Linked DNA regions of Homo sapiens: all the other regions are linked to region 1. The links are contacts of gene promoters, found by promoter capture Hi-C in blood cells and fetal thymus (Javierre and others, 2016). All regions are on one chromosome and are shown on one strand. Each heading gives the region's core, a stretch centred on a gene start or on the middle of the fragment in contact. The rest is flanking DNA. Distances are from core to core; before and after follow the strand shown.

Region 1 (3,370 bases), core at 265-2,764:
CATACAATCACATCCCCCACGTTCTTTCCTTCACCACCCATGGGAGTGGATAAGGGGATGGAGGAGGGTAAGCAAGGAGGAGGATGTGGTAACAGCTGATTCGTCCCCAGAGGTCACACTTTCCAACAATCAGCTGTTACTGGGGCGCAAGGCAGGAAGTTTCCTTAAAGGCGCAATGTCCTGAACGCAGGCTCAGAATTTTGGAGCTCCAAGTGAACCTTATCAATTACCTGATGGAGTGCGTATTTAACAGAAGGAAGGATCTCACCCTCCAGCCTCATCATTCCTGCTTAGTTACCCTCAGCCCCTATTTGGAGCTGAAGGAAAAGGCATGGATTTCAGTCCACATGTTCCTCTTTGGGGGACTTGCGGGGATTGATAAGGTAGGGCAGGTCTCCGGCTTGCCCCTTTAAAAACGCCGACCAGCAGCTTTTGCCAAGTCACTGGGTTCATTTCACTTTTTGCCCATCCCCCGCTCATCTAGACTCTGATTGGCCCCTGGGGAAGGAGCAGCCTGCTCATTGGTCTCCACCTTCGAATCTCTTCCCTAAGTAGGCCTGAGTCAGTGAAGAGCTTTGGAGGGCGGGACTGAATGGGGGTTAATCAGAGGATGCGATTGCTGACCCTTTGCACTTTGGCATGGCCCATCCCCTAATTTCTGACCAGAAGCCCTCCCTCTACCCTAAGGTGAGGACTGTGCTATGAATCTTTTGTTAGAAAGCTACCTCTTGGGAGGCTCTGGGGGCTCTTCTGGGACTGGGAAGAGACATCCAAGAAAAAAAGCCTCCTGTGGTTAGGAAGAGCCCCCAGGAGGAGTGGGCTGGGCGAGGCGAGCACCCTCCCTCCTCCAAAAACCCTGGAGAGCTCTCCAACGGCAGTCTCTGCTGCCCTGGGGGCTGACGCTCTGCCCACTCCTGCTCCTTGGTCCGCTCCACCTTTCCTTAAAGAGCTATAGCGTCCCGCAGAGGCCGGCGAGTCAGTTTGGGGAATGTCTAAAAGAAGCACTCACGACTCCAACAAGGAGGGGCTGTCGCCCTTTAAGGACTTCCCCGGGCTGGATTCCGAGCTCAGTTTAAAAATGCCAACTCACAGAGCGCGCTGGGTTCTGGGAACGACGGTGTCAGGCTGAGAACTACACGGACCAGCATGCATTGCAAACGCAGACGCCGTGGCTTTCGCCTGCTCTTTAGGACTCTCGTTTGACGTAGCGCTTTTCTAAGCGGGTCGCTGACGCGGAGGGCTGGGCCACACCTGTCCGTCTATTGGCCGGCTCCTCAGTGGGTGGGCGTGGCTTCGTGCAATTCCGCCCGGCAAAAGGGTGGCCTCCTTGCCAATCAGAGCCAGGGCGCCCGGAGAGGCGGGACCAGGGCGAGGCCCCGTCGGCCCCCGGGTGGGCGGGGCCACGTTGCCCAGCAGTGGGCGGTGATTGGCCCCGGGCCGTGCATTCGCAGCTCGTGCGTCACGACGCCGCCAGCTGATCGGAGCCTGGAGCCGGTGTGTGCTGGGTGCCGAGAAGAGACAGCGCCGCCGGCCGTGGGGAGCGGACGCAGTGATTTGCTCCCCCTCGTGCAGCAACCCCCACACCCAGCACCAGGTGGGTGTGAGCTGGCGACCCGGTCACGCAGCGGGGAGCCGCGGTAACGGGATGGAGGGTGAAAGTGGGGTCCGGGCGGCCACACCCAGCCCTTCCGGGAGGAGAAGGGGCGGCGGGGGCAGGGGCGCCTCGGGGAGAGGGGCCTGGACTGGCCGGGTTAGTGTGTCAGGAGCTACGAGGAAAGAGTCTGGGACGGGAGTCGTGGCGGAAGGGCTGGCGGAGTGGCGGGGGGCGGGGGGAGAGCCGAGGGGCCGGAGGGCCGGGGGCGGCTCACCCGGCGGCCCCCGGTCTGAGGATACAGGGGCCGGCCATCTAGCCTGGGGAGGGTCTGGACCCCCCGAGCGGGCGGCGAGGAGGTGCTTTGCCTCTGCCGGCGTTCACTGGGTCAGGGCCAGTTCAGCGCCCTGGCAGGGAAGGGGTCGCTGGGCGGGCCGGCCCCTCCTCTCGTTCTCTCCAGGGGATGTTATGTAAGGGGGGAGGGGAGAGGAGTAGGGGGCGGCGGTGCCGGGGCCTTATGCAACCCAAAGGTTAGGGTTTCACCGTGGTTGGGCGGGGGGAAGAGGGCAAGAGGAGGGCCTGGAAACTCTAACCCCCGCTCCCCAGACTAACTGGCCGTCTTGGGCCGAGAGAAGGTCACCTCTGCACCTCCCCCCAGCCTGTCCGATTGTGAGGCCCCTAGCCCAGGCCTGGCCCTGACTGCCTGGGAAGCCGGCTGGCTGGGTGGGGCGCCTGGGTTAGTCATCACTGGGCTGCCTCTCTCCCCACCTCTCGGCCAACTCTTGGCCCCTCCCCATGGCCTCCGGCGAGGCTGTCACCCCCACCTCCCTCCGGCCCTGGTTCCAGCCTCCAACTCCTTTGGCCTGTCATCCTGGCTGTCAGATTGGGCTAGGAGCTGTCAGAGTGCCAGAGGGTTGATGGAGCAGCTGGTCAGAGGGTCAGTGCCCTGGGCCCACCCCGCCCTGCAGCCAAGGGCACCTGCTTGGCACAGACTCTCAGCAGCTGCTGAGTCCTCTGGGTTGAACAGAGCTATCTCAGACAGAGGAAGGTCGGACGGAGTTGGACTGGTCACCCAGGGGAAGGAAGATACACAAAGTTCATGCCTCCCAAGAGGGTTTCGGAATTTGAACCGCACCCCGTATCCCCCAATCTTTCTTACCCTCTGAGTATAGAAATTCCAAGGCAAGACCGCCTTGGCCCCTCAGCCTGGCGTGGGCCATGCCCTTGGACTGAGTGTCAGCACGGACCCGCCCTCCCCAGCTCACATCCCCCGAGCCTGCCACGCCCCCAGCCCCCTCCCTGGGCCATGCTGCAGGGCCCGGCTTTTCCTGCTGATTCATGCGTTGGAACTGTGGGGGCGGGGCTTGGAACTTGGAACAAAGTTCAGACATGGAGGGGCCGGCAGACAGCCTGGAATTCATACCAGATGTACCCGGAATGCGCAAGCGGAATGCCTGGCATCTGAGAGTCCTGGGGAAGCTGCCCAGCCACCCTGCCCATACCTCCCTCCCCTCCAGCCTGTGGTCCCCTGCCCGCCCCTCACAGCCCCGGCCACCCTGCCGATACCTCCCTCCTCTCCAGCCTGTGGTCCCCTGTCCGCCCCTCACAGCCCCGGGGGCCTCTGCTGACCTTCTTTCAAACGCTAGGCCTCCTCCCTTCCTCACTCTTCCCCAATCCAGGCCCCCAGAACTCTCCTTCCAGCTGAACTCCCTGGGAACAAGTCAGTTGGGCTGATCACTGAACTCACATTTCTGGACCTGAGGTACCACACTTCTAGTA
Region 2 (3,370 bases), core at 425-2,924, 690 kb before region 1:
TTCTGCCCAGTCCCACTCCCTTGACCTGAATTAGTTTTGCTGTCATAAAGCCACCTCTTTTTTCCTTTAAAGGAATCCCTGACATCGTCATCCGTCTCCTGTGCCTTTCCGCTGGGTCAGCCTCCTCCCACCAAGCTTCTGACCCACTGTCATCCGCAGCTGCCACTCTAGCTGCAGAGCTCGACTGGGCTCTGGTTTCTCAGAAGAGCTCAGAGGACCTGGCTCCTCCCTCTTTGCTTCTGAACTGCATTTCTTTCCTTATTACTCAGTGTCCACACCCACGGTGGCTGCCTGGATAAAAATCTGCCCCTTTCTCCCGTCACCTTTCATGCCAGACAAAAGCCCCAGTGAGTAATGGTGACCTACCCAGGTCCAGCTAGCAGCTCTCCATTCCTGAGTGGCCTGGGGCAGAACAGGGTCCTGCGAGCTCCTGGATCCCAAGTCTGATTCCCTTTCCCTGTCTTCCCGCTTATCTGCTAAGCTTGTTTATTGGGGACCACTAAGCAAAGTGAATGATTATTCCTGTCTTTAACGAGGAGGGGTGGAGTTCCCTCTCCATCTTCACCCACTTCTGGGAGGCTTTCAGGGACTCAACACCCCACACTGATAGCACTTCCCCAGGCCTGGCCCAGCCAGCCAAAGAGGAGGACCAGGCCACTTCTCAACCTAGCTGATGCTTGGCAGCTTTGTGACCTTGGATACACCTTCTCTTGGGAGGTCAGACCCCATGATCCCAGCTCTTCCAGCTATGACATCATGTGAGGCTGCAATTTTTTTTTTTTTTTTTTTGAGACAGTATCTTGCTATGTTGCCCAGGCTGGCCTTGAAATCCTGGGCTCAGGCGATTCTCCTGTCTCAGCCTCCCACGTAGCTGGAACTTAGGGCGTGAGCCACCGCGCCCAGCTTCTGGAAAGGACATGAATGGGGAGGTGGAACTTGATTGGACCTGTTCTGTGAGTTCAGGAGAGGTCCTCTGACAACTCACTTGGGGTGGGGAAAGGAGGTAAAGAGTCCTGTGGAAACTTTTGGCTGTGGGGACCCCATTTCACTGATGATTGAATGGGTCCACCTCTGTCAAAGGAATTCAGAGTCCCACTCATCATTCAGACTGGGGGAATCAGGCTCAGTTGACTGGCCCAGCCTTAAATCCACTGAATTTGTTTTTATCTCTACATAGAAAAACGGAATTACAGTTGCTTCTCACTGTCCAATGGGGATTGGTTCCTGGAGCCTCCCTGAATACCTGTCCATGGATGATGCTCAAATCCCTTACATGTAACCTATGCACATCCTCAGGTATCCTTTAACTCATCTCTGCGCTACTCAAATACCTCATACCATGTAAATGCTGTGTAAATAGTTCTTGTGCTGTGTTGGTTTTTAAATTTGTATTATTTTTTCTTGTATATTTTCCATTTTTTTTTCCTGAATATTTTTGATCCACGGTTAGTTGCCTCCATGGGTGCGGACCCACGGACACGGAGGCTGCACCTTCTGAAATGAGCATGGCGGCGCCCTCTGGGTCCTCGTGTCGTCCTGTCTCTGGTGCTGCATCCAGCACGGTGGCGAACAGCAGAACTAATCTTTTGCAAGTTATCACAGTGGAGTGGAGTTCCGCTCTGTTTGCTTTTGCCCCGCTCTGGCTTACCAGAGGTCCCCTGGCCTTGGCCACAGCATACCTAGCCTAGTGCTTGGCACCTCAGGCACACAATAAATATTTATGAAATGGATCTTCTCTGGTATGTCTTGAGTGTACTAGTCTTCTGTTTTTTCCTCTTCATCCTGCAGCCAGCTTCCTCCCATGGGTCTTGTTTTAATGATGGTATGTGAAAAGCTCCTTAGCTGCTTGCAAAAGATGAGACATCAGGCTTGAAGGGTTGGGATTTCCTGTGAACATCTGTACTTTCGGCTTCACGCCCTTTCCCCCATCTCATGACTCAGGCTTTGTAGGAGTCAGGGCACTGATTTTCATAGCTCTTGGAGTTGATACTTTGTTAGGTGAGTGGTGGGGGATAGGAAGACAGTTCCACTAAGGGGATGTCTCTGGCTCAGCATATTAAAAAATTGGGGAATTGGTGCTTCTTATTGTGGTTGGTGAAAAAAAGAATAAAAGATTAAAAAATTGGAGGACATAATGGAATTTGAACTGGGAGGTGGGGTGCACAAGACTCGGGGAGGAAGACTGAAAACGGAAACCCTCTCGTGAGAAACTCACAATGATGGACAGCCCAGCTTTTCTCCTGCTCCAAGGTACTAAGCACCCAGAAGCCATGAAGAAACTTAAGGAACAGCCGGGCGCGGTGGCTCACGCCTGTCATCCCAGCCCTTTGGGAGGCCAAGACAGGCAGATCACTTGAGGTCAGGAGTTTGAGACCAGCCTGGCCAACATGGTGAAACCCCGTCTCTACTAAAAATACAAAAATTAGCCGGGCGTGGTGGTGCGTGCTTGTAATCCCAGCTACTCCGGAGGCTGAGGCAGGAGAATCACTTGAACCTGGGAGGCAGAAGTTGCAGTGAGCCAAGATCACACCACTGCACTCCAGCCTGGGCAACAGAGGGAGACTCTATCTCAAAAAAGAAAAAAAGAAAAAGAAACTTAAGGAACACCTTTTTAGAGATTGCTGGCCTTTGGATAATTCCCCAAACCTGCTAACCTTTCTGCTGAAACCAAAAGGACTTATTTCTCTTTCTCTTGAGTGAGTACATTTGCCAGCTTCTATCCTGGCTCCACCCCCTTGGAACAGGAAGCTGGGGCTAAAATATTAAACAGCCCTCCTATTCATTCCCCTCTTCTTTCATGCCCTCACATCGCCATTTATAGGTATCTCCCACCCCCACTGTCCATTCCTCAACTGGGGAAAGCTTGGTTGATGAGGTATTGTTTTTGGCCATTTTCAGGCTCCTGTAGGCAACAATAGGTCCAGAAACAGCCTCCCCCACCCTTTTTTTTTTTTTTTTTTTTTTTTTTTGGAGACGGAGTCTCTCTCTGTGGCCCAGGCTGGAGTGCAGTGGTGTCATCTCAGCTCACTGCAACCTCCACCTCCCGGGTTCAAGTGACTCTCCTGCCTTAACCACCCCCAGTAGCTGGGATTACAGGCGCCTGCCACCACGCCCAGCTAATTTTCTTTTTTCTTCCTTTTTTTTTTTTTTTTTTTAGTAGAGACAGGGTTTCACCACACCACGTTGGCCAGGATTGTCTCGAACTCCGGACCTCAAGTGATCCATGCACCTCGGCCTCCCAAAGTGCTGGGATTACAGGCGTGAGCCACCGCTCCTGGCCTGCAGCCTCCCTTCTAAACCCTTGTTTTTGTCTAACATCCCCTGGCTGCTGTCCCCACATGACCCAAATAAACAGATGATCATGTGAAGC
Region 3 (3,370 bases), core at 380-2,879, 540 kb before region 1:
ATACACTGGACAGAGGTAAAAGAGATTAACTCAGGGTGAACAGGTAGAGCGACCTAGAAAGGTAATCTTTGTCCTTAATTTTGCAAGTCAAAGAAGTATTTTAGGTAGATGTGGTCAGCTGACTTTTCTGGCAGAAGGAACAACATGGATAAAAACATAGCATGGTTCGAAACTGCAAGGAATGGTTGCTTCTGAGATTCCCAGCCAAGATTCTGTCATTATAATGTCTTGGGCCATGGTACAGATGTCCACATTGGTGCTGTCTGATCACTCAGTTGGAACTGAAGATTCATCACAATGTAGATAGATTTGAGCTTTTGATTTGGCTCAAGCTTAGAAGTGAATCCTTCAAATAGTTCTTTCTCTGCTTTATTTTATGTATTAGCAAAGGTTGACTCACTCTAAAGTCATGCCTTCCATCATTCTGGGAAGCTTTCTGAGCCAAGCCCAGCTTGGCTTAGGAATAAGTTATGCTTTGTGTTGTAATCATTGGCACTAAGTCCTATTCTTGACTTTCACACACACAGTAGGACTGCAGCTCCTGATGCGTATGGGAAAGAGGAATTGTGATAATACTCGCTATGGATTTACATTTTTCTGGGATTTTTTTTCTTGATAAAGATGCTAAAACCTTATTCTTGCTATTGAGATTTTGAGTTTACTTGTGCCACAAATCTCTGAGATGCTAGGTCCTAATTTGTCAAGCAAACTATGTTAACACATTTGACATTCTCTTCTGAGGAATGTCTTTGGCAGGTTTTCCTTTAGACTTCTGGACAGATCTATAAAACTCTATGGCTTTTGAAATACTTGCAAGTGACATATGTCAAAAGGTTGAATAAGGCACTAATAGTGCCCTTCGTGCTCCTAGGAAGCTGTCACTTGTGGTCACTGCAGACCAGGAGTGAGATCTTATGGGTTGCATTCCTAAATTTCTTTTTGTTTGCATGAACAGATTTTTTAATCTCTTTCCTTGTCTTTACATCCGTACACTGGGGATATAGCATACACCATCAACACATCTGCACAGCTTTGTCCACCGAGGGGTAGCAGAAAGTTGTTTATTATAGCACCAGTCATCTGCATGTCTACCACCTCAGAGTTAGAATAATGGTGGGGATTAGGACATATGGGGCAAAGGGTATTTATTGGCTGTGAAACAAAGGCTTTTTGTGGACTAGTAGAAAAAGTTGTGGCAATTTAAAAAATTATTGCAGAGTTAAAAGAAATCTTCCAAAAATATATATACACAGAAAAGTGCACATAACAGAGCCATACAGGTGATAAATTGTGACAATGTAAGCATACTTGTATAACCAGCAGTTTATTTACTTGTATCGCTGTCATTCTTCTCTTCCCTTTTTTTTTTTTTGAGACGGAGTCTCGCTCTGTCACCCAGGCTAGAATGCAGTGGTGCGATCTTGGCTCACTGCAAGCTCCGCCTCCCGGGTTCAAGTGATTCTCCTGCCTCAGCCTCCTGAGTAGCTGGGACTACAGGTGCTCGCCACCACACCTGGCTAATTTTTTTTTTTTTTGTATTTTTAGTAGAGAAAGGGTTTCACTGTGTTAGCCAGGATGGTCTCGATCTCCTGACCTCGTGATCTGCCCTCCTGGGCCTCCCAAAGTGCTGGGATTACAGGCGTGAGCCACCGCGCCCGACTTTTTTTTCTTTTTTCTTAAATATATTTTTGAGATAGAGTCTTGCCCTGTTGCCCAGGCTGGAGTGGAATGGCATGATCTCGTCTCACTGCAACCTCCGCCTCCCGGGTTCAAGTGATTCTTCTGCCTCAGCCTCTCAAGTAGCTGGGATTACAGGCACCCGCCATCACACCCAGCTAATTTTTGTATTTTCAGTAGAGACAGGGTTTTGCCATTTTTGGCCAGGCTGGTCTCAAACTCCTGACCTCAGGTGATCCACCCACCTCGGCCTCCCAAAGTGCTGGGATTACAGGCATGAGCCACTGCGCCCGGCCTCTTCCCTTTTAACTCTAAACTCAAATTTTTTTCTATACGTTTAATGATAGCAGTGACAGAGCATTTTAAATAAATTAGGAAGAAGTTAATGCCCATGTTTTCCTTGCTTTGTGGATCCTTGTTAAGATTGATTTTCATTGTTCAGAGACAGAGGACGAAGAGAGAATTTGGAAGATAAAGAATTGGATCAAAGATAAAAGATTTGAGGTGTTTGCTTTGACTTTTGAACTACAGAGTTTGGGTCTGGGAACCAGCACAGAAAAGATTTGATTGACCAAAAAAACTAGCTGGAAGCAGGCCTTGCCTCCAGTCACAGTGAAACTGAGTCTCTCACCAACAGTGCTGTGGTTTACAGCCTTCATCTTGAAGCATCTGGCTGTGGGGGGGGAAAGTGACATCATGGCCTGCCTTCTCCTGGACATGCTTGGTTCAGCTCAGATGTGGAATCCCAGAAGATCTGCAATGCGTGTTTCTAGCCTTGTTTTTAGTGTCAAGGCGAATGCCAGGCTGTAGCAGGCCATGTTGTTGTCTTTGTGTAATCCATTTGTATTCTAACAGTTTTCTTCTTTTTCTGCTGCTAGCTGCCAGGGAGGTAGAGTTGCCTCTGTTGATAAAGAGCAGATACAGAAGTTCACATCCAAACCTGAATGACCATTTTTAACTTGAAACACTTTTCCTGGGAGTTGATGCGCCAGAATCCTTCCCTTATTTGGTGCCTTGCTTAAATCTGAAGCTCGCACAAGGTAGCCAAAGCTCCCTGTGTGCTGGTTATTTGCTTTATGGCAAATAACCACAGCAGAGTGGTTTGTGAAACCGTCTTTGTGACCACATCTATCTTAAACTGAAGCTTCGTTCTCCTTTGGGTTCTTAGATTAGTTCGTGCTCCTCCCTTTCCTGAGAGATTCAGGGGTTTTCCTGTATGGCGTTAGGTAGGTAGAGAGGTTATATTTTCAAATATTTTTCTGGACTGTGCACAGTCCCTTTATTAGTGTGCGAATGCACACATATTCCTTGAACTTTTTTTTTTTTTTTTTTTTTGGAGACAGGGTCTCGTTTTGTCACCCAGGCTGGAGTGCAGTGGCACGATCTCGGCTCACTGCAGCCTCAACCTCCTGGGCTCAGGTGATCCTCCCACCTCAGCCTCCCAACTGGGACTACAGGCGTGTGCCACCATAGCTGGCTAATTTTGTTTATTTTTTGTAGAGATGAGGTCTCACTGTGTTGCCCAGGCTGGTCAAACTCCTGGGCCCAAGTGATCCTCTTACAGGCATGAGCTACTGTGCCCGTCCTTGAAGGACTCTTTCCTTATTCATCAGGCTCCTGTTGCTTTATCACCATGAATAAACTTGTTCAGTTTTACAATTTTATCTTTTATCTCTTCTTACTGATACTATTT

The links. Contacts are between HindIII fragments. The CHiCAGO score rates a contact against its expected background, and 5 or more counts as called.
Region 2: a contact is called between a fragment that was not itself captured here and the fragment with the promoter of MIR22HG in region 1, in 3 of 17 cell types (non-activated CD4 T cells, M2 macrophages and M0 macrophages). The highest score is 5.8, in non-activated CD4 T cells.
Region 3: a contact is called between a fragment that was not itself captured here and the fragment with the promoter of MIR22HG in region 1, in 4 of 17 cell types (naive CD4 T cells, naive CD8 T cells, total CD4 T cells and 1 more). The highest score is 6.2, in naive CD4 T cells.

Annotation. Positions count from the first base shown.
Region 1 is chr17:1,714,354-1,717,723 of GRCh38, reverse strand. It overlaps MIR22HG (MIR22 host gene), which reads left to right and starts at 1,514. Exons shown (of 3, transcript NR_028505.2): 1 at 1,514-1,594. It also overlaps a transcript of WDR81 not described here. RefSeq lists an enhancer at 726-1,367. The HindIII fragment of the contact is 4,707 bases long and covers 1-3,370 here.
Region 2 is chr17:2,403,933-2,407,302 of GRCh38, reverse strand. It overlaps LOC284009 (a long non-coding RNA gene), which reads left to right. Exons shown (of 3, transcript NR_028335.1): 3 at 73-322. Among named protein-coding and RNA genes, the nearest start is that of MNT, 4.6 kb to the right of the region's middle. The HindIII fragment of the contact is 2,381 bases long and covers 484-2,864 here.
Region 3 is chr17:2,259,316-2,262,685 of GRCh38, reverse strand. The region is part of intron 8 of SMG6 (SMG6 nonsense mediated mRNA decay factor); the gene reads left to right. Among named protein-coding and RNA genes, the nearest start is that of SMG6, 43 kb to the left of the region's middle. RefSeq lists enhancers at 2,841-2,970, 3,251-3,370. The HindIII fragment of the contact is 2,389 bases long and covers 435-2,823 here.